Regions from separate parts of the Homo sapiens genome. Here all the other regions are linked to region 4. The links are contacts of gene promoters, found by promoter capture Hi-C in human tissues and cell types (Jung and others, 2019). All regions are on one chromosome and are shown on one strand. The core of a region is centred on a gene start or on the middle of the fragment in contact, and the rest is flanking DNA. Distances in the headings are between cores, read along the strand shown.

Region 1 (2,831 bases), core at 26-2,525, 430 kb before region 4:
AAGTGTGAGCTCATTCCTCTTCATTCATTTATTCAACAAACAGGCCGGGTGTGGTGTTCTCAGGCCTGTAATCTTGACACTTTCGGAGGCCAAGGAGGGAGGATCCCTTGAGCCTAGGAGTTCAAGACCAGTCTGGGCAACACAGCAAGACCTCGTCTCTACCAAAAAAAAAAAATTAAGAAATTATCCAGGCATGGTGGTGCAACCTGTATTCCTAGCTACTTGGGATGCTGAAGTGGGAGGATCACCTGAGCCCAGGAGTTGGAGGCTGCATTGAGCTGTGATTGAGCCACTGTACTCCAGCCTGGACTACAAAGTGAGACCCCGTCTCTAAGAAATTAATTAAAAGTTTAAAAAAGTACATTGCCTGGCAATTTGTAATCATTAGCCTAGAAGTAATTAAAAAAAAAAAAAAAAGGTCGACCACTGATTACTCTGTTGGGCCTGCTTCTTGGTCTGCTGGTGCAGGAGAAAGGGATAGGATGAGAGCTGGGTGAGGCCAGGGCTGCTGCGGTGGGTGGGGCAGAGGTCTCTAAGAGTTGGATGGGGAGCACAGGCCAAGGGATAAAGGGCTGCAGGGCTCTGAGGAAAATCACAAAGTTTGGGGCATGCCCATAGGAGCCAGTGGGGTCCTGGGAGGACCTTGGAGCAGAGGACAGTCACTGTGTTCTCACAGGAAGGTAGATGGAGGGGCTGGGCAGACAGACGGTGCTGGGAGTCTGTCTGCCCAGATGGGAGCTGCCGAACATCTAGGGGTGGTTGTCATGGGGCAGGGAGGGCGAGATGGGCAACATGGTCAGGTTCTGGATGTGCTTGGAAGGTGAATAGAAGTGTGGGAGTGAAGAAGGAAGGAGGCTGATGCACAGGCTCACAGACCAAGCTGGGGGTAGAAATGATGGTAGAGGGGGTGCTTGGTTTGGGATGTTAAATGTCTGAGATGCTATGAGACACCCATATTGAAAGGTTGAGTCAGAGGGAAGGGGGATCACGAGCTCAAGTGTACCAAAAGAGCTACTGGGCTCAACTGACTTTTCAGACTCACAGGACAACCATGCCTAGCAGCAGCTTCTCGGAAAAGCTGGCCAGCATCATCCAGCAGCCATCCAGGGAGTACTGAGGTGCATAAACACAAGATGCAGGTAGGAGGAGGAGTTAGCCTAGTCGAAAGCCTCGTGGTCATACAAGCCAGCACCTCCTGTGTCAAGAGAACTGGCTGCAAGACCTGCTAGGGAGGCCCTGAATGTACTTCCTGTGGTTGTTCATCATTGAGTCACAGCCCAGGTGTGATTGGTCCGTAGAGAGAATGACCATCCACCTCTGCCAGGTTTCCAGGGGACCAGAGCTGTGCATTCACCCAAGGTCAAATTCGCATGCAGGGCTAGGCGCAGTGACTCAAGCCTGTAATTCCAGCACTCTAGGAGGCCAAGAGGGGCATATCACTTGAGCTCAGGGGTTCGAGACCAGCCTGGGCAACATGGTGAAACCCCGTACCTACAAAAAGTACAAAAATTAGCCGGGCATGGAGGCAGGTGTCTGTAGTCCCAGCTACTCAGGAGGCTAAGGTAGGAGGATCGCTTGAGCCTGGGAGACGGAGGTTGCAGTGAGCCTAGATCATGCCACTGCACTCCAGCCTGGGTGACAGAGCGAGATTCTGTTTCAAAATAAAGAAATGGCAGATCTGTGCGCTGGTGGGTGACCCATGGAAAGGGTCAGGGTGTGGCAGGAGAGAAGGCACTTCTGCCCTTGAGGGTAGGCAGATGTCAGACAGGGGGACCAGGAGCACATGAGGCCACTGTTAATGCTCACACTTGGTCTTCATCTTAATCCAAAATTGGTTATTGTTGGGCTGGGCGTGGTGGCTCATGCCTGTAATCCCAGCACTTTGGGAGGCCAAGGCGGGTGGATCACCTGAGGTCGGGAGTTCGAGACCAGCCTGACCAAGATGGTGAAAACCCATCTCTACTAAAAATATTTAAAAAATTAGCCGAGCGTGCTGGTGGGTGCTTGTAATCCCAGCTACTCGGGAGGCTGAGGCAGGAGAATTGCTTGAACCTGGGAGGCAGGGGTTGCGGTGAGCCAAGATCACCCCATTGCATCCCAGCCTGGGTGACAGAGCAAGACTTCGTCTCAAAAAAAAAAAAAAATTGGTGGCTGGACACGGTGGCTCACGCCTGTAATCCCAGCACTTTGGGAGGCCAAGGCGGGCGGATCACCTGAGGTCGGGAGTTCAAGACCAGCCTGACCAACATGGAGAAACCCTGTCCCTACTAAAAATACAAAAAAAATTAGCTGGGCATGGTGGCGCATGCCTGTAATCCCAGCTACTTGGGAGGCTGAGACAGGAGAATCACTTGAACCCAGGAGGTGGAGGTTGCGGTGAGCCGAGATCTCGCCGTTGCATTCCAGCCTGGGCAACAAGAGTGAAACTCTGTCTCAAAAAAAAAAACAAACAAAAAAATTGGTTATTGATGTATCCCATCTGGGTACACACAAGTTACTAAAGGAACCACTGATTTCCTGCTGAACTAAAATGTAACATTTTTGTTATCTTCCAATTTCCCACATACCTGTCTGGCTTCATCTGTTCCTCTGTCAACAACTTGTTGGTTTAATTGCAGCGGCTTCCTACCCACCCTTGGCTCTGATTCCTGGCAAGGCAGTCCCCACCCTCTGTTCTTTCCAGTTAAATTCTTGGCTATTCTCTAGCATCCATTCTTCTTATGAATTCTCAAGTAGTTGTAGTCATTCCTTTAAAAGACTTCTGTTGGAATTCTAATTAGAGTTGCATTGCGCTAACACAGAAGTGTGCTCACACACACATTTGGAGGGAA
Region 2 (3,062 bases), core at 405-2,904, 360 kb before region 4:
GCAAGGGGGCCTTCCTAAGCCCAGCAAGGGCCAAGGTAGGGTCTGGGCCCAGGGCCAGTGGGCAGAGCAGGAGGTGGGCCTTCACAGGACATGCGAGGGGAAGGAGGCAGTCAAGCTTCCTACCATGAGGCTCAGTGGTGGGTGGGCATCCACGTGTTCTGGCCGAGAGACCTGTTGGCAATTATGAAAGGATTAGAGGTCAAGGTGCCAGAAGCCCAACTTCCAGGCTAATCAAGGGGGTACTGTGCTCTCTGCTCCTTTACCTCCAGCCCCAGATTTCTCTAGCAGGGACATGGGGCTGGGCTGAAGCAGCCATGGCACTTGAGTGAAGGAGGCCCACTGAACTCTTGTTCCTCTTTAGAGTGTATGTGTGTGTGGCATGTGTGACTCACTCCACAAAGCCGTAAGAAGTGGATGCCACGTGCCAGGCACTGAGTAATGGGGATACAGTAGTGGACACGAGGACCCTGCCTTCACGAAGCAGTCTGGCGGAGGAAAGAGTTAAATAACCACACAAATAAGCACACTGCAACCACGACAGCGCTCAAGTACAGGGAACTATGAAAGCCACTTAGACTAGAACGTTCAGTGTAATGGGTCACTTCCCCAGGGACCTCGGCCAAGGTAATGGAGGTGGAGAGAGCACTCCAGGCAGCAGGAATAGCATGTGAAAGGGCCTGAAGCAAGAAGAAATGGGGTTGGATGAACCAGTGTGGGTAAATTCCCGGCAGCAAGGGAAGGCAGTGAGCGACTGGAGGTTGGGGAAGGCAGTGAGCGACTGGAGGTTGGAGAAGGCAGGAGCAAAAATGACAAACTGTAGGGAAGACAAGAGTGGACATGGAAACCCCTGCCCTCAAGTACATAAATTCCAGTCTCCAGCTCACCTGTCGCCAGGATGGAACCAGGCACAGGGATGTAATCTGATATAAATCGTTCACCTCAATTAAGCCAATGACCCCAGACCCTCTACCTGCCCAGGCATTCCCCCGGGAGGTCGGAATGGGAAAAAGAGTCTTCGTATGGCAGCTTCTGGCCCAGAAAGTGGTTTGTGGGTGGAAGCCCCAGGTCACCGGCACAGGTAGGCTGATCCCCCCACCTGGCTCCTGACAGTAGGAATGCCCGGAATAGCAACCAGAATTTAGAGAAGACAAACAGCCTACCCCACCCAAGGCACCGTTCCTTCCTCCACTGTCACTTATCCTAGGCCTTCCGGGGCAATAAATAGAAAGAGAAAAGGCTCTAGAAGGAGGTGATTTCGCAGGAGGAGTCAGGGCCCCGGGAGTAGACCCAGGCCTGAAGAAAAGGCCGCAGCTGGAGCTCGCCTTACTCAGGCCCCGGACACCGTGGCCGCCACGAGCGGGGTCTGCGGGGAGCTGCGAGACTCGGCCAAACGAAGCCCACCTCGCGCCGCCGCGGGGGAGGGTGGCTGGGCTCGACCACCTCCCACACCAGGCGCTCAAGGCCCCGCAAAGCCCCCGCGCTTTCCCGCCTGGAGGCCCGGGGGACGCGGGGACCCCAATGCCGAAGGCGGGAGGGCTAAGGAAGCGACCAGGGATCACTCGGACCGAGGGCAACCCGAGTCCGCGCCCGCCGCGCCGACTCACCCTCCCTGAGGACCACCCGAGGCTCGCAAACGCGCGACGCCGCCGGAAACGGGCCTTGGCCACCCGCGTCCGCCCCGCCCCGCAAACTTCCGGCCGCCCTGGGCCGCTCGGAGGCCCGGCCATCTCTGTGGTTCTCAGCCCCGCCTCCCAGGCTCCGGAGAAGGGGTGGAGTCAGAGCCGAGGAGGGGCGAGGCTGGGGCCCGAGGGACAAGAACCTGGGCGGGACCAGAAGCCCAGATAGGCGGGGCTGGCGCCTGGGGGCGGGGTACAGTCAGAGGCGGGCAGGGGGCGGAGCCGCGAGGGAGAGGAGGGCCCAGAGCCCGGAGTGGGCGGTGCCTGAGCAGGGGCGGGGCGGGGCCGGGGCCTGGAGCTGGGGACGCGGGCCGGGGCCGGGAGTTGCGGACTCGCTGGCGGGTGGGAGGAGCGGAGTCGGGGCGAGGCTGGCGGAGATCCAGGGGATCGCCCGGTTGGGCCCTGCGCACCCCGGATCACCAGCTTCGGGCGCTGGTTCCCACCGAGGCTGTTCAGGCGCCGCTCCCCCGCGTCCCTGCGACAGGAGGCGCCTGCTGGGCGCGCTATGGACCCCGCCTCGCGGAGACGCCTGGCTCGGGCCTTGTCCCCAGTGAGCGGCTGGAGCGGCCGCGGGGTCGCAGAGCCTCCGGGACCCCGAGGAAGGGCGCCCCTCGGAGTTGCCCGAGGCCGGGCCCGGCGTCCACTCGCCACTCGCCTCGCCCCTCCCCGGCCCCGCACCGCCCTCCACCCCGCCTCCTTCGGGTTCCTTCTGCGTCCGGCAGAGCCTGCGCGCCTCCCCCGGACGGCCACGGACTCGCAGCCTCGGCGAGGACGCTGCCTGCGTCCCGACTGCCTGGACCTCCCCGCGTGGCTCCCGGCGAAGCCCAGCAGCCGGAGGGTGCCAGGTCCGCCTGACGCGCCCCTCCCCACGGGAAGAACGGGGCGGGGGTCCAGGAGGGACGTAAGCCGGGCTCCCCCGGCGTGTTGATCCGAACCCGCGCGGGAAAACTTGCGCAAACCAAAGGAGGGAAGAGTCAGGCAGCCCCCAGCCCCCCAGGGAGGCCCAGGTGAAAAACAGACGCCGGCCTCGCCTCTCCCGGTGCGGATGATCCCGGCACTCCCACCCCCGCCCCTGCTGCCCCGAGTTCGGCTCCCTCAGCCCCACATCCTCTCTGGTCATCTAAGTGGACTGCAGCTGCTCAGGGAGCATGTCGCGAAGGATAGGGAAGGACAGGGGGTCTGCTTCCCCAGCCGCCCTCCAGACCCCCAGGGCTGGTAGGGGCCGGCAACCCTATGCCCCAACCTGGCCTGCTGCAGGTGAGGGGGGCACACCAGGGTAACACAGGAGCAGGAGGGGGAGAAAGCCTGGCTAGAGCATCCACCTCATAGGCACCTTCCTTGTGTCCAGGGTGCAGATGCCAGGGCTCTGAGGCCCTGAGGTCCTGT
Region 3 (2,817 bases), core at 253-2,752, 260 kb before region 4:
ACCACGGAAGGCCTCTGGGCGGCAGCAGAGCCCACCCTTGCTGCTCTTTCAGTCCAGGGATTGGCGCTCTGGGCCCCGCGCCTGGAGGGGCTTTAGGCCCGGTGGATAAAACATGGCTCTCCACTTCCCTGTTTGGTTCCTGAGTTCTCTTTTGGCACTTTTCAGCCGACTCTGGTGATGTACGAAGGGAGAGGCACTGCTGGGCCTGCCATACAGCTGCACAGTGAGTGAGCGGCCTCGAGTTGGTGGGTGAGGGCACCCGCTCCTGGGAACAACGCCAGCCCTGGGTGGGCTCAGCCCTGCCTGCAATGTTGAGAAACTGTTACAATTGAACATCTTTATCTGAGTAGTCACAAAAAACACATGTAACCTGTTGATAGCCTGATGAGAGATCTGTTTTGGTTTTGGTTCTTCAGAGACAGGGTCTCACTCTGCTGCCCAGGCTGGAGTGCGGAGGTGCGGTCTCAGCTCACTGCAGCCTCCACCTCGTGGGCTCAAGCTCTCCTCTCATTTCAGCCTCCCAAAGTGCGGGGATCACAGGCGCGAGCCACCATGCCCATCCCAAGAGATCTATTTTTAAGCGGGCAGTTACGTTGATATGAGACATCAGGGAGGACCCTGGCATTTAAAAGGAATCTTAGGCCGGGTGCGGTAGCTCACGCCTGTGATCCCAGCACTTTGGGAGGCCGAGGCGGGTGGATGGCGAGGTCAGGAGATCGAGACCATCCTGGTTAACACAGTGAAACCCCGTCTCTACTAAAAATACAAAAAATTAGCCGGGCGTGGTGGCGGGCGCCTGTAGTCCCAGCTACTCGGGAGGCTGAGGCAGGAGAATGGCGTGAACCCGGGAGGCGGAGCTTGCAGTGAGCCGAGATTGCGCCACTGCACTCCAGCCTGGGCGACAGAGCAAGACTCTATCTCACAAAAAAAAAAAAAAAAATAAAAATAAATAAATAAAAGGAATCTTATATGCTTGCTAAAAGGGCACTACGCATGGAGAAAATGACATAAAATTTTGTTTTCGTTTTTATCCCAATTTTTCTTTTGACTTTTATAACCAGGAGCTTTAGGAGTAAACTCGTATTTTTAAATTTTAACATGAATATAGGTCAGGCACACTTCATTTTATTCCACTTCACTTTGTTGTGGCTTTGCAGATACTGCTGCTTTTTTTTTTTTTTTTTTTCCATAGATGGAGTCTTGCTCGTCGCCCAGGCTGGAGTGCAATGGCGCGATCTCAGCTCACTGCAACCTCCGCCTCCCAGGTTCTAGTGATTCTCCTGCCTCAGCCTCCCAAGTAGCTGGGATTACAGGCGCGCGCCACCATGCCTGGCTAATTTTGTATTTTTAGTAGAGACAGGGTTTCACCATGTTGGCCAGGATGGTCTCAAACTTCTGACCTCAGGTGATCTGCCCCCCTGGGCCTCCAAACTGTTGGGATTACAAGTGCGAGCCACTGCGCCTGGCGAACATTTTTTTTTACAAATTGAAGGTTTGTGACGACCTTGTGTTGAGCAAGTCTGTCAGTGCCATTTTCAACAGCACGTGCTCACTTCTTTGTGTCACATTTTGGTAATTCTTGCAGTATTTCAAACCTTTTTTTTTTTTTTTTTGAGACGGAGCCTTGCTCTGTCGCCCAGACTGGAGTGCAGTGGCGCGATCTCGGCTCACTGCAAGCTCCGCCTCCCGGGTTCATGCTATTCTCCTGCCTCAGCCTCCCGGGTAGCTGGGACTACAGGCGCCCACCACCACGCCCGGCTAATTTTTTGTATTTTTAGTAGAGATGAGGTTTCACCATGTTAGCCAGGATGGTCTCGATCTCCTGACCTCGTGATCCGCCCGTCTCGGCCTCCCAAGGTGCTGGGATTGCAGGCATGAGCTACTGCGCCTGGCCTCAAACCTTTTTTTTATATCTGTTATGGTGCTCTGTGATCTGCGATCTTTAATGTTGCTATTGTAATTGTTTCAAGGGCACCATGAACTCTGCCTGTATGAGACGGTGAGCTTAATCGATGAGTGTTGGCTGTCCTGACCCACTGATCAGCCATTCCCTACCTCCCTCTCTCTCTCCTAGGGCCTCCATATTCCCTGAGACTCAGCAATATCGAAACTAGGCCAATTAATAACCCTGGAATGGCCTATAAGTGTTCAAATGAAAGGAAGAGTCACACACCTCTCGCTTTATTGCAAATGTTAGAAATGACCAAGTTTAGTAAGGAAGGTGCGGTGAAAACTGAGACAGGCCAAAGCCAGGCCTTTTGCGTCTGTTAGCTAAGTTGTGAATGCAAAGCAAAACTTCTTCAGGCGTGGTGGATCAAGCCTGTAGTCCCAGCTTCTCAGGAGGCTGAGACAGGAGGATCGCTTGAGCCCAGGAGTTTGAGGCTGCAGTGAGCTATGATCACACCACTGCACTCCAGCCTGGGTGACAGAGTGAGACCCTGTCTCAAAAAGAAAATAACAGTAAAAAGTAAAGTTCTTGAAGGAAATTGGGAGTGCTATTCTGGTGAACATATGAATGACAAGAAGGTACAGCAGCCTTATTGCTGATATGGAGACAGTTTCAGTCCCCCTCAAACTGTCTGGATAGAAGATCAAACCAGACACATTCCCTTAAGCCAAAGCTTCGCCTCAAGAGCAAGGCCCCAACTCTCTTCAATTATGCGAAAGCTGAGAGGGGTAAGGAAGCTGCAGAAGAAAACCTTGAAGCTGGCAGAGGTTGGTTCATGAGGGTTAAGGAAAGACGTAGTCTCCATAACAAAAGCACAAGGTGAAGCAGCCACTGCTGATGGAGAAGCTGCAGCACGTTGTCCAGAAGAC
Region 4 (3,183 bases), core at 336-2,835:
CTGCTTCAGGGCCTCGTTCTCCAGAGTCAGATGCTGAACCCTTTTCTCTGAGTCCGTCGCCCCCTGGTGGAGAGGAAACCTCGGCACTCACCTGAAGCACCCCCTCCATGCCCGGCCCTGCCAGGTCTCCCTGCAGCCTCACCACGCCCAGGCGCAGTCGACCCAACTCCTCCTCCTGCTGTTCCAGCTGCTGCTTCAGCTCCTCCAGCTGGGGAGAAGTAAGAGAGACAGGGTGGACCTCCTTTTTCTGGCGTCCCAGCCGGCAATCCCTTCTGGCTCCAGGGACCTCACCTGTCCCAGGATGAGCTGCTCCAGCCGCTGCCACGCCCTCTGATCCTCCTCCAACTGGAGGGGCTGCTGTCCCTGGGTCTCATCCCCCAGTGGCTCGCCTGGGACTGCGGTGAAGTGGGAAGGGCTTTCTTCTTGGGATGTGGATCCTGGAGTAGGGTGGGCCCAGTTAGCACTGAAGAGGTCTCTAGTCCAAATCTTCCGGAACATGACCCCGAACTCCAGGCCGCCCAGGTTCTACCGGGATTTGCTCCCTCCAGAGTTCTTCTTCAACTTACTGTCCTTTACTCACCATCTGGAGAGGGGGGCCGGACCCGAGGGGCTGGCTGAGTCCCCTGGAGCAGGGCCTGCCTCCCCCTGGGGCTTCGAAGCCATGCCAGAAGGGCCAAGAGCTGACTGGTCACTGTCAACAGTGAGGGGACCTCGCCAGACTGCGAAGGAGACAAGAATCCGAGCAGGGCTGTGAAAGCCAGGAAGGCCGGGGCAGGTGGTACCTGCCAGCAGCCCCCTCCGCCGCGCTCACCTGGCCCAGGTCCGCCGGGCCCCCGCAGCTCTCTTCCGCCCCCAGCTGGACGGAGAGGAACTCGGCGAGGCGCAGTAGGGCCTCTTCCAGGGACACCGCGGCCGCGCGGCCCTCGGCTGCGCCTTCCGACCCATCCTCAGGCTCGGAGCTGGCTGCCGGTCAGGGAGGAGGGCGGGAGACATTTCGGGTCACGTGCTTGAGCCAGGCCTCCGCCCCTCCCTGGGAGGTCCCGGCACCGCCCTCGCACCGCGGGACTCCCAGCCCGCACCTACCGGCCAGGCCGGTCAGCTCGGTCCACAGCTCTGGCGCGGGCAGGTCTGGGCGCCGGCGACCCCGGGGCTTGCGGGCTCTCTAGGGAGGGGGCAGGGGCGCCCCTGAGGAGGGGGGCAGGCAGCCTGCTGGCCCCTTCCCTCCGCGAACCGGGCCGGAGGATTGGGGCCGAAGTCTACGCTTCCAGCATCGGGGCCGAGCCGAGGGTCCTCGGCACGGCCCCGTCGCCCCGCGCCCCGTGCCCGCCCCCGCCCCGGGAACCTCGGCGTGGGGGTGGGGCAGGCGGCGGGAGACGACGGGCTGCACGGCCAGCCCCGCTCACCTGGGCGGGGTCCCCGGGCTCCGCGGCCGCCGCGGCGCCACCATCCCTGCGGAAGAGGCTGTAGAAGATGTAGATGAGCAACGAGTAAAAGGCGTACATGGGAGCGCGGGGCGGCAGAGGGCCCCGCTTCGCGCCGCCCCGCGTCCCCGCGCCCAGACTCGGCGCCCGCCCGCCGCAGTGCCGGTGCGCATGCTCGCGACGGCCGCCCCCACGGCCCGGCTCCCACGGCTGGAAGGCGAGCGCGGGGACGGGGGTACTAGAAACAGGTGCCCGCGGCCGCACCTGGAGACCCGCCGTTTCTCACGGCGCCGCCCGGCGCGCCCCAACCCCTACACCGCGGACACCGGGCTGAGAGCGCCCACGGCTCCCGCGACCCTCCTCTCGGAATCCCTCCCACCCTCCGCGTAGTCCCCCACCGCTCCGGTTTCGCGGAGCCTTCAACACGCCGGGGTTCTCCTTCCTCTCCCTACAGCCCCGCCCATCTCAGCCCCGCCCATCTCAGCCCCGCCCAGACCCCCCCTCCTCGCAGCCCCGCCCAAACCCCGTTCCTTGCAGCCTCGCCCAGGCTCCTCCCCTCTCGGTCCCTCTCAGTCTCGCCCAGACCCCTCTCCTCGCAGCCCCGCCCAGGCCCCGCCCCTCGCAGCCACGCCCAGACCCCCCCATCGCATCCTCGCCCAGGCCCCGCCCCACCCAGGCCCCCTCCCTCTCAGACCCGCCGCTCTCAGCCCCGCCTAAACCTTATCTCCCTCAGCCCCGCCCAGACCCCCCGCCCCTCGCAGCCCCGCCCAGACCCCGCCCCTCGCAGCCCCGCCCCGGCCCTTCTCCCCTCATCACGCTCCTTCCAAACCACTATGCCCACGCACGCACCCACCCAAACAGAGCGTTTTCTGGTCCCCGAGCTCCTCCCGACCCCACCCGCTCCTACGGCCTCCAACCGGCCCCCCCCAGGTCTCGACCCTCTCCCCCAGGCCTCGACCCTCCCCCCCCAGCCGCTCTAGCCCCGCCCGGCCGCTCTAGCCTCCGCTCCTCTCGCTGGTGGAGGTTCCCGACCGCGCTCGCTCCCGCAACTGGGGGCACGGCAGAGGAGGCAGGGCCGACGGCGGTGGGCGGTGCGTTGCGCAGGCTCGGGCCTCCCGCTCGCCGCTGCGTTGGGACCGCGCAGCCCGGTAACTGCGCACGGCTGGCCTCCCGGAGTCCTGCGCCGTCGCTCCTCCTGGACCCGGGTTCCCAGGACAACGCCTCCCGGAACGCAGGGAGCAGGCCGAGGCCGCCGCGTGGGCCTGCAGCGCCTCGCCGCTCTCTCTTCCCCAGGCCCGCACTCCCACTTGGGCTCCAGGGCCCCAGGGCTGACGTTCCCCCCAGCTTAGACCCTGAGTCGTTTTCCCCCGTTTCCCGGCTGAATTAGGTTCTTCTTCTCCACAGGTGTGTGCAGTGGCCTCAGGGATCCGGAAAGTCTAGGACTGAACTTCTCCTAACATCCAGTAATGGGGACCTGGAACCTGGGCTTACTAGAGTGCCGCGCGTAGGGCTCCAGGTCGCTGGCTTCTGCGCTTCCTTCCTCTCCAAAGTTGAGTATCTCCTATCTGTGTCCTCGTACATACTGCCGCCTGAGGTGCCATGGCCCCCAAGCCGGGGGCCGAGTGGAGCACAGCCCTGTCCCATCTGGTGCTGGGAGTGGTGTCTCTGCACGCAGCCGTGAGCACAGCCGAGGTGAGTACACTGGGGCTGAGCAGGGGCGCATCCCCATACCTCCCAAACCCCAAGGACCTAGTTTCCTGAA
Region 5 (3,057 bases), core at 446-2,945, 330 kb before region 4:
CCATGTCCAGTGCTTGCGGCCTCGTCTGGAGTGGCTGTCAAGTGACCCAGAACTGCATAGCCCCTGCTGTGTACCAGGCTGTGTGGTCTCCCGTGAAGGTCAAGACTGAGCCCAGTCACACAGTCCTCAGGACTGTCAGGTGGATGCTGGCAGGGCCATGTCTCTTCCAGCCTTAAAGCGGCCTGGTCAGTCTCCTGGCTGCACGTAGGGTCTTGGTAGCCGCATCTCATCCCAGAGACCCGTGAGACCATCTTGGGGACCCCACAGCCTGTGTGTCCAAGCACTCTTCTCACCTCTATCCCGCACCCAACTCTCCTTCTGCTCCTCCAGAGAAGCAGATTTGTTCAGGAGTGACGGACAGGCTGGGCCTGTGGGCCAATTTTGGGCTGACCCCAGAACCCCTCACCCTGCCCCCAGGGTCCAGTCCTGCCCCTCAGCCCCTGGCCCTAGCTGTGGGCTGTGCTGCTTCCTGAGTCCCCACCGGGCAGCTCCTCCTCCATCCCCCTGCCGACCCTAGGGGAGGGCCTCCTGCAGCAGCCCCTCCTCTCCCCTGTGAGCAACAGCGGGCACAGGACACCCTTCCACCCTCTCCTGTCTCCTTCTCACGATGTCAACCCTGCCTCAGCCCCTGCAGGGTCTAGGAAACACCCCACCTCCCAGTACCGACAGCAAGCCTCTCCCGCCCACTGGGACCCCCGCCTTCACCTCCTTGCTGCCTCCCCACCCACGGCCTCGCGTGTGCTCGACAGTGCTCACTCAGCCAGGGACTCTCTCCTGGAAAACCTCTTCCCCACCATCCCCCACCCGCGGCCTCGGGGTCCCACCCGTTAGGGGCCCGATTCCGCGAAGCCCCTCTCCACAGCACGTACCGCAGGACACCCCCAGTCGGGCTGACTCTTTCCAGCTCAGGCCCCCACAGCCCCTCCCAGCCTCCATTTCTTGCTCCTTCCCCACCTCTCCCGCACAGGGTTCTGGTCAGGGTACGGTCCAGTCTCCCATTATTCGTCCACTCCGCAGCATGTGACCCAGCCCATCCCCGCTCCTTCTTCCTCGACCCGGGACCCTCCAGCTTGGCCCTCCCCACTTCCTGGGCCGGCCGGCCCTCACCCTCGGCAAGGATCCCGGGGCTCCTCTCCTCGACGCCCGACCTCTCCAAGGGCCTACAGTGGATAAGGTCCCCGCGTCCAGAAGCGCCCGTTCATCAGGGAGACGGACATTTGCCACCTGCAAACCATGACGTTCCACGAGTGGGTCCACGCGTCTCCCCTGCCCATCTCCTGCTCTGCACCAGCGAGAACCCCCTCGGCCTACACGGAAGCCCCTCACCAGGCAAGCCGGGAGCCCCAGACCCCGTGGCCCGGAGTGGGTCGCTCTGTGACACCCTGGACAGGTCACTCAACCACTTGGCGCCTCCTCGGCCACTCAGAAAACACCTGCCCTCCCGGAGACCCCGGTGAAAGCCGAGCACTCCTGCACCCTCCTTCCGAGCCCACGCACACCAGGACACCTTCAGCCGCGTCTCCTGGTGCGCCTGCGCGGGGGCCCTGGAGGAGGAGAAGTAGGCGGGGCCGGCGGCCGCTGGTGACTACAAGCCCCGGCGTGCACCGCGCTAGGCTGGCCGTGGCGCGCCCGGAAGGTGTCGCGGCCCTGGGCCCCGCCCCGGAAGATAAGGCCGCTCGCTGACGCCGTGTTTCCTCTTTCGGCCGCGCTGGTGAACAGGTAGGTCATCCTTGCGGCCTTGCGGCATGGGCAGTATCCGCCGCCATCCTCTTCCGTGAGGCGCGCTGAGACCCGGACCGGCCCTCCTGAGAGGATGCCGGTGCGGGCGCCCGCGGAGAGGGTAGGGAGTGGTGGGCGCGGCGGCCTCGGGGGCGGGGTCCCGGAAAGCCGGGCTGGCGGGGGTACCCGGGCCGCCCGGCCGCGCTAATCGTGAGTCGCCCCCAGGACCCGTCGCCATGGGCCGTGTGATCCGTGGACAGAGGAAGGGCGCCGGGTCTGTGTTCCGCGCGCACGTGAAGCACCGTAAAGGCGCTGCGCGCCTGCGCGCCGTGGATTTCGCTGAGCGGCACGGCTACATCAAGGGCATCGTCAAGGTGCGGAACGCTGGCCGGGGCGGGAGGGGAAGGGACGCCCGGCCGGAACGCCGCACTCACGCCGCCTCTGCCCACAGGACATCATCCACGACCCGGGCCGCGGCGCGCCCCTCGCCAAGGTGGTCTTCCGGGATCCGTATCGGTTTAAGAAGCGGACGGAGCTGTTCATTGCCGCCGAGGGCATTCACACGGGCCAGTTTGTGTATTGCGGCAAGAAGGGTTAGCATCGCGGCGGGGAAGGAAGGTCGGGGTGGGGAGGGGTCTGGGTGTTGCCTGAGGAGTTAACGTCCTAAGCCGATATGGGAACCTCGCAGGCAGAAGCTTCAGGTGGGGACATCCGCGTGGCCAGACCAGTGGCCACCGGTGGGTGCCGAGAGAGTTGTACCGGGAGGCTGGATGTTGAATGCTGTGCTCGCAACTTCGCGGGTTGCCTAGAGCGAGGGGGTTCGCATTGTTTCTTACTGTGCTGACGGCCTGATGCTGCTTCCCCTTGCAGCCCAGCTCAACATTGGCAATGTGCTCCCTGTGGGCACCATGCCTGAGGGTACAATCGTGTGCTGCCTGGAGGAGAAGCCTGGAGACCGTGGCAAGCTGGCCCGGGCATCAGGGAACTATGCCACCGTTATCTCCCACAACCCTGAGACCAAGAAGACCCGTGTGAAGCTGCCCTCCGGCTCCAAGAAGGTTATCTCCTCAGCCAACAGAGCTGTGGTTGGTGAGTATCAGGCAGCAGTTGAATGCTGAGGGCTGTGGGTGAACATGCTGTGAGTGCCGGTGGACAGCCAGTGGCTAGACTTGGTCCCTGGAATTCGATTACCTGTTGTTCTAAAACTTGGGTTCTGTAAGTTTGAGCTCATCCTGTAGTCTCAGTTGTCATCACTGTACAACAGGCACAACAGTACCTGCTTTACTGCTGTTGAGGCGTTAAATGAGATTGGGACGAAGTCACCAGGGTCTTGGATTC
Region 6 (2,843 bases), core at 207-2,706, 280 kb before region 4:
CACGCCTGTAATCCCAGCACTTTGGGAGGCCGAGGCGGGTGGATCACCTGAGGTCAGGAGTTCGAGACCAGCCTGACCAACATGGAGAAACCCCATCTCTACTAAAAATACAAAATTAGCCGGGCGTGGTGGCTCATGCCTGTAATCTCAGCTACTCGGGAGGCTGAGGCAGGAGAATTGCTTGAACCCAGGAGGCAGAGGTTGCAGTCAGCCGAGATTCGCGCCATCGCACTCCAGCCTGGGCAACAGAGCGAGACTCCGTCTCAAAAAACAACAACAACAAAATATGTGATGCGAAAACTGATAGAACTACAAGGGGAAATAGATGAGTTCACTGTCTGCAGTTGGAGATCCAGCACCCTCTATCGTAAATGGACAGATCCAGCAGGATGCAGTTGAGTTTAACAGCACCATCACATCAGTCAGCTGGGAATAATTTACATCTGTAGACTGCTTCATCCAACGATAGCAGAATGCACATTCCTGCCAAGCTCATGTGGAACATTCACTAAGATAGACCACATTCTGGGCCACAAAACACTTTAACATACTTGAAGAATAGAAAACATAGAATGTCTATTCTCAGACCACAATGACATGAAACTAGAAATGAAACCAGAAAGATAGCTAGAAAATCCTAAAGTACTTGGCAAATAACACACTTCCAAATAACACGAGTCAAAGAAGATATCTCAAGATAAATTTTAGAATATTTTGAATTAAGTGAAAATGAAAATAAAACTTACCAAAATTTGTGGAATGCTGTGAATGCAGTGCTTAGAGGGAAATTTATAGCATTGACTGCATGTATTAGAAAATGGGAAAGATCTAAAATCATAATGTAAGCTTTCACTCTAGGAAACTAGAAAAAGAAGAGCAAATTAAATACAAAGTAAGCAGAAGAAAAGAAATAAAAATTCAAGCAGAAATCAATGAAATGGAAAACAGGAAATCAATAGAGAAAATCAACGAAACCAGAAGATGGTTTGAAAAAACAATAAAATCAGTAAACCTTTAGCCAGACTAAGACAAAGAAGAGAGAGGACACAAAATACTAATATCAAATGAAAGAGGGAACATCACTACAGAGATGTCCCACAGACTTTTAAAGGGTAATAAAAAAAAAAAGATGAACAACTCTGTGCCCAAATTTGATAAATGAACCAATTCCTTGAAGTACACAATCTCCCAAACACGGGAAGAAATAGACAATCTGAATAGGGCTATGTCTGTTAAATAAGTCAAATCAACAATTACCTTCCAAAATAGAATCCACTGGGCTCAGATGGGTTCACTTATGACTTCTACCAAACATTTAAGGAAGAAATTATACCAGTTCTCTATAATCTCTTCCAGAAAATAAAAACAGAGGGAATACTTCCTAACTCATATGAGGTCAGTGTTATCCACCCAAATGCCAAAACCAAACAGACATTACAAGAAAAGGAAACTACAGACAGACACCTCTTATGAACATAAATGCAAAAATCCCAACAAAATATTAGCAAATCAAATCCAACAATGTATAAAAAGAATTATATACCATGACCAAGTGGGATTTGTCCCAGGTTTACAAGGCTGGTCCAACATTAGGAAATAAATTAATGTAATGTGATGTACCACATCAACAGGCTGAAGAAAGATCATGTGGTCATATCAGTAGATGCGGAGAAAGCATTTGACAAAATCCAACCTCGATTCATGATTACAAATTCAACAAACTAGGAATAGAGAGGAACTTCCTCAAGTTGATAGAGAGCATCTACAGAAAATCTACATTTTCCTTTATACTGGCAACGAAGAAGTGGAATTTGAAGTTAAAAACACATTATTTACATTAGCACCACTAAAGATAAAATACTGAGGTGTAAGTCTAACAAAATATGTACAAAATCTGTGAGGAAAAATACAAGACTGATAAAAATATATCAAAGAAGAGCTAAATAAATGAAGAGATAGTCTGTTCATGAGGAAAACTCAGTATTATCATGATGTCAGTCCTCTGCTTGATTTACAGATTCAACACAATCTCAATCACAGTCTCAGGGGCTAAGTGTGGTGGTTTATGCCTATAATCCAGCACTTTGGGAGGCTAAGGCAGGAGGATCGCTTAAGCCCAGGAGTTTAAGACCAGCCTAGGCAACATAGTGAGACCCCATATCTACAAAAAAATTTTTTTTGTTAGCTAGGCCTGGTGGCATGTGCCTATATTCCCAGCTATTTGGGAGGCTGAGGTGGGAGGACTGCTTGAGCCTAGGAGTCTGAGGTTTCAGTAAGTTATGATCATGCCACTGTATTCCAGCCTGGCTGACAGAGCAAGACCCTGTCTCTAAAAAACGAAAAAAACTCAGCAGGTTATTCTGTGGATATTAGCAAACTGATTGTAATGTTTATAAGGAGAGGTAAAAGACCCAGAATAGTCAACTCAATATTGAAAGAGAAGAGCAAGGTTGGAGGACCCATAGTACCCAATTTCAGTACTTTTACTATAAAGCCACAGTAATCAAGGCAGTGTGGTATTGGTCAAAAAACAGAAAAAATAGATCAATGAAACAGAACAGAGAGCCCAGATAAAAACCTGCATAAACATATGCAACTGATCTTTGACAAGGGAACAAACACACCTCAATGTAGAAAGGATGATCTTTTCAAGAAATGGTGCTGGAATAACTGAACATCCACGTGCCAAAAAAAAAAAAAAAAAAAGAATCTAGACACCCATCACAAAAAATTAACTTAAAATGTGTCTTATTCTGCTCAGACTTAAAACCACAAGCTGAGTGCTTAAAACAGTAACTTTCCTCCGCTCCCCTTCCCCTCCCGCTCCCCGTCCCCCTCCATAT
Region 7 (3,213 bases), core at 36-2,535, 390 kb before region 4:
TTAATTTTGTAAAAATGAAGCCTTGATATGTCGCCCAGGCTGGTCTTGAACTCCTAGCCTCAAGTGGTCCTCCCACCTAGTCCTCATAAAGTACTGGGATTGTAGGCATGAGCCACTGCACCCAGTCTCCACTCCTATTTATTATTGAACACTATTCCATTGTATGGCTGATGTGGTTTGCATCTGTGTCCCCGCCCAAACCTCATGCTGAAAGGTAATACCCAATGCTGGAGGTGGAGACTGGTGGGAAGTGATTGGATCGTGGGGGTGGCTTTTCATGAATGGTTTAGTACCATGCCCTTAAGTTATGGTCTCATGATAGAGTTCTCCTGAGATCTGGTTGTCCACCTCCGCCTCCCAAAGTGCTGGGATTACAGGCGTGAGCCACCGCACCCAACCTGTCATTTTTATTATAACCCTTCTAATGGTATGAAATGGCACCTCCCCGTGGCTTCCATTCGCATTTCTCTAATAGCCAACAATGCCGAAGGCTTCATGTACCCATTACCCACTTTGTATCTTCCTTGATGTCTACTCACATCTTCTGCCCATTTAATTAGGTTGTTTCCCTTTTCAGAGTTTTTTTTTTTTTTTTAAGTTTTATTGGGCTATAATTCACATACCATATAATTCACCCATTTTGTACAATTCAATGATTTTGGCATATTATTTTTTAACTATGGTAAAGTACATGTTAAATAAAATGGCTCGGCCATTGTTTCGGACCGAGCTCCTGCGCTAGGGCCCAACAGAGCAGCCCAAAGCGGAACCGAGTCACGCGCGCCGGACGCCACCCGACAGGAGGGGAAACGGGGCAGCTCTCAAAACCCTGGAGGCGCAGACCGTCCACACGGGACAGGGACGCCCGCTCGGCTCCGCTCCGCGCTGATCCTCAAGGTCTCGCGGTTTCCCCGCCGCCCACCCGGACGCCGACGAAAGCCAGCGAGCTCCTCAGCCTCAGGTGACTGGAATTCTGACCCCAGACCACGGGACGCGTTCTCCCGCTTTACCCTCACTCTGCGCGGGCGGGGAGGGAGACGCGGGCGCAGGCCGCAGTTTCTACCTCAGAAACGGAAACACAACACCGCCTTCTTTTTCTTTGGGGAAAGAAAAAAAAAAAACTGTCTAAGACGAGGTCTGGGACCCCGCCGGCGACCCCCGATTCCCCCGGGCGGGGAGGGGGCGGGACCTGGCGCGGCCTCGGCTCCGCCCCTCGGGCCAGCGGACCACAGTGGGGCGGTCATTGCTGCCTTCCTAGAGCGGCCCGGAAGTGGCTCTCAGGGCGCTTCCGGGGACCAGGCCCGCTTTTGGCTGCATCAGCCGGGGATTGCCGGCGCCAGGTGCTGGGGGCGACTCGGACAGCGGGAGCGTGGGGTGGAGTAGGATGGAGTCTCCCTCCCGAGCTGGGGGTGTGGGCCTAGGAAAGGCTGCTTCGCCGCTGTGTTCGGAGAGCTCTGGATACTGCGGGGCTTTTCCGCGGAGGAGCGCCCGCCGGTAGGTTGGCCCCGAACCGTGGGGGCGGCGACGGCCGAGTGCCAATTTGACTCTGTGCACCAAGGTCCCCGCGCCCCGGAACGGGCGACGCCGCGCCCCCATCAGAGCCGCGGGTACGGAGTCAGGGTGCGAACCCGGCCTTCCAAGCCGCGCGACCGGAAGCGGGCAGCTCGGAGGCCTTCCCGGATGGCTCTTTGGAGTGGGAAGGAGCTCCTGGTGCTGGCGGGACGGTGAAGGAGTTGGCAGTGGGTGGTCGTTGACTCCCAGGGAGAATGGGGCGCCGTGAAGCCCGTGGGGAGCTCCTGGGCTCCCCCAGCGCTGTGCAGAGTGGCCTGACAAGTGCCTCGAGGACAGGAGCTGTGCCCCGCTGAGCTCTGCTCCAGTACCTGGTGTGCTGAGGTGGGCACGTGCGTTTCCTCTGGCATAGCAGGTGCTTGTGCTGCTGCACTGCTCCTTCAGGTGCGTCGGAACCCTCTTTAGTTGCCGCACTTGCCTCTGTTGCCAGCCGTTGCTCAGCTCTTCCAGCCCGGGGGTTGGGGCTGTGGTGGAAACAGCTGGGACTTCTGAATAGACAGGTCTAGGCTTCAGTCCTTGACTTTGGCAGCTGTGTTTAGAGCTTTGATTTCTTTTTACTTTTCTTTTCTTCTTCCCTGCCTCCCCTCCCTCCCCCCTCCCTCCATTCGTTCGTTCCTTCCTTCCTTCCTCACAGCATCTCTGTTGTCCAGGCTGGAGTGCAGCGGCTCGATTTCGTCTCACTGCAGCCACGACTTCCTGGGCTCAAGGGATCCTCTGTCCTCTCAGCCTTCTGAGTAGCTGGGACTACAGACGTGCACCACCACGCCTGGCTAGTTTTTTAAATTTTTTGTAGAAACGGGGTCTTGCTATGATGCCCAGGTTGGTCTCCAACTCCTGGGCTCAAGCGATCCGCTGGCCTCACCTTCACAAAGTGCTGAGATTTCAGGCTTGAGCCACTGCACCTGGCCTAGAGCCTTATCTCCCTCTCTGTCAGGTGAGAATGGTAATTCTTCTTGCCCACTGTTGTGAAGGATTCAAGATTGAATAGTTAAATGGTCTCAGTGTGGTCTGTGGCGCCAGCTGCAGTGTCCCTGTGTTCCCCGGACCGTTCCCCTAGTTCATTCTTTCATCTATTAATTTACTTGGAGAACTTGTGCTGTTTCCTGGTCCTCCTCCCTGCCCCCTACTTCTCTGCCAATTCCTGCTTGTCCTTCATGCCTTAGATGTCACTTCCTCTGGGAGGCCTCCGCTCCTCCTGGGACTGACATGGACCCCTCTGCCACCTGCTTCCAGGGCCATCTCCGCAGCACTGACTGTCATTGGTAGTTCACACTGTCAGCATGCTGATGATGGGGACCATATCAACCCTCACTCGCTGGCCCAAAGGATGTGAGAGTCACTGGTCTTCTCTCCTCCACCCCACTCTAGGCATCTGCATCTGGGACCGACCTCCTGGGCTGGCTGATCAAAGAGGAAGCAGCAGCAATGTCTGCTGTGGGGGCTGCAACTCCATACCTGCATCATCCTGGTGATAGTCACAGTGGCCGAGTGAGTTTCTTGGGGGCCCAGCTTCCTCCAGAGGTGGCAGCAATGGCCCGGCTACTAGGGGACCTAGACAGGAGCACGTTCAGAAAGTTGCTGAAGTTTGTGGTCAGCAGCCTGCAGGGGGAGGACTGCCGAGAGGCTGTGCAGCGTCTTGGGGTC

What was found. The method cuts DNA at HindIII sites, captures the fragments that hold promoters and counts their contacts. A contact is called where the count stands out against the background at its distance.
Region 1: a contact is called between a fragment that was not itself captured here and the fragment with the promoter of KIFC2 in region 4, in 1 of the 25 tissues and cell types used here (lymphoblastoid cells).
Region 2: the fragment with the promoter of ZNF7 here is called in contact with the fragment with the promoter of KIFC2 in region 4 in 2 of the 25 tissues and cell types used here (lymphoblastoid cells and spleen).
Region 3: a fragment that was not itself captured here is called in contact with the fragment with the promoter of KIFC2 in region 4 in 1 of the 25 tissues and cell types used here (dorsolateral prefrontal cortex).
Region 5: the fragment with the promoter of RPL8 here is called in contact with the fragment with the promoter of KIFC2 in region 4 in 4 of the 25 tissues and cell types used here (IMR-90 fibroblasts, lymphoblastoid cells, mesenchymal stem cells and 1 more).
Region 6: a fragment that was not itself captured here is called in contact with the fragment with the promoter of KIFC2 in region 4 in 2 of the 25 tissues and cell types used here (small bowel and spleen).
Region 7: the fragment with the promoter of COMMD5 here is called in contact with the fragment with the promoter of KIFC2 in region 4 in 2 of the 25 tissues and cell types used here (H1 embryonic stem cells and lymphoblastoid cells).

What each region holds. Positions count from the first base shown.
Region 1 is chr8:144,892,176-144,895,006 of GRCh38, reverse strand. All of the region lies in intron 1 of ZNF250 (zinc finger protein 250), which reads left to right. Among named protein-coding and RNA genes, the nearest start is that of ZNF250, 7.9 kb to the left of the region's middle. The HindIII fragment of the contact is 7,783 bases long and covers 1-2,831 here.
Region 2 is chr8:144,826,152-144,829,213 of GRCh38, reverse strand. It overlaps ZNF7 (zinc finger protein 7), which reads right to left and starts at 1,654. Exons shown (of 5, transcript NM_003416.4): 1 at 1,605-1,654; 2 at 124-171. The coding sequence starts at 126. LOC100130027 (a long non-coding RNA gene) reads left to right here and starts at 2,174. Exons shown (of 5, transcript NR_147501.1): 1 at 2,174-3,062. RefSeq lists enhancers at 425-950, 951-1,476, 1,477-2,002 and a silencer at 1,334-2,463. The HindIII fragment of the contact is 13,991 bases long and covers 1-3,062 here.
Region 3 is chr8:144,727,459-144,730,275 of GRCh38, reverse strand. All of the region lies in intron 4 of ZNF251 (zinc finger protein 251), which reads left to right. Among named protein-coding and RNA genes, the nearest start is that of ZNF251, 27 kb to the left of the region's middle. The HindIII fragment of the contact is 6,507 bases long and covers 1-2,817 here.
Region 4 is chr8:144,464,739-144,467,921 of GRCh38, reverse strand. KIFC2 (kinesin family member C2) reads right to left here and starts at 1,585. Exons shown (of 18, transcript NM_001369769.2): 1 at 1,404-1,585; 2 at 1,084-1,162; 3 at 812-963; 4 at 581-719; 5 at 292-437; 6 at 143-208; 7 at 1-63. The coding sequence starts at 1,502. It overlaps TMEM276-ZFTRAF1 (TMEM276-ZFTRAF1 readthrough), which reads left to right and starts at 2,221. Exons shown (of 5, transcript NM_001408018.1): 1 at 2,221-2,351; 2 at 2,826-3,113. The coding sequence starts at 3,021. It overlaps TMEM276 (transmembrane protein 276), which reads left to right and starts at 2,430. Exons shown (of 3, transcript NM_032687.4): 1 at 2,430-2,569; 2 at 2,826-3,113. The coding sequence starts at 3,021. RefSeq lists enhancers at 592-691, 382-1,218 and silencers at 862-921, 992-1,301, 1,352-1,911, 1,972-2,101, 2,172-2,431 and 1 more. The HindIII fragment of the contact is 34,202 bases long and covers 1-3,183 here.
Region 5 is chr8:144,791,028-144,794,084 of GRCh38, reverse strand. It overlaps RPL8 (ribosomal protein L8), which reads left to right and starts at 1,695. Exons shown (of 5, transcript NM_001317782.2): 1 at 1,695-2,093; 2 at 2,171-2,312; 3 at 2,590-2,808. The coding sequence starts at 1,956. MIR6850 (microRNA 6850) reads left to right here and starts at 2,094; the gene lies at 2,094-2,154. RefSeq lists enhancers at 1-603, 3,016-3,057 and a silencer at 1,774-1,993. The HindIII fragment of the contact is 17,129 bases long and covers 1-3,057 here.
Region 6 is chr8:144,745,052-144,747,894 of GRCh38, reverse strand. The region is part of intron 4 of ZNF251 (zinc finger protein 251); the gene reads left to right. All of the region lies in intron 1 of LOC107986986 (a long non-coding RNA gene), which reads right to left. Among named protein-coding and RNA genes, the nearest start is that of ZNF251, 9.1 kb to the left of the region's middle. The HindIII fragment of the contact is 9,429 bases long and covers 1-2,843 here.
Region 7 is chr8:144,851,120-144,854,332 of GRCh38, reverse strand. COMMD5 (COMM domain containing 5) reads left to right here and starts at 1,285. Exons shown (of 2, transcript NM_014066.4): 1 at 1,285-1,494; 2 at 2,938-3,213. The coding sequence starts at 2,995. RefSeq lists enhancers at 665-764, 1,315-1,644, 1,222-2,070 and a silencer at 1,055-1,244. The HindIII fragment of the contact is 6,847 bases long and covers 1-3,213 here.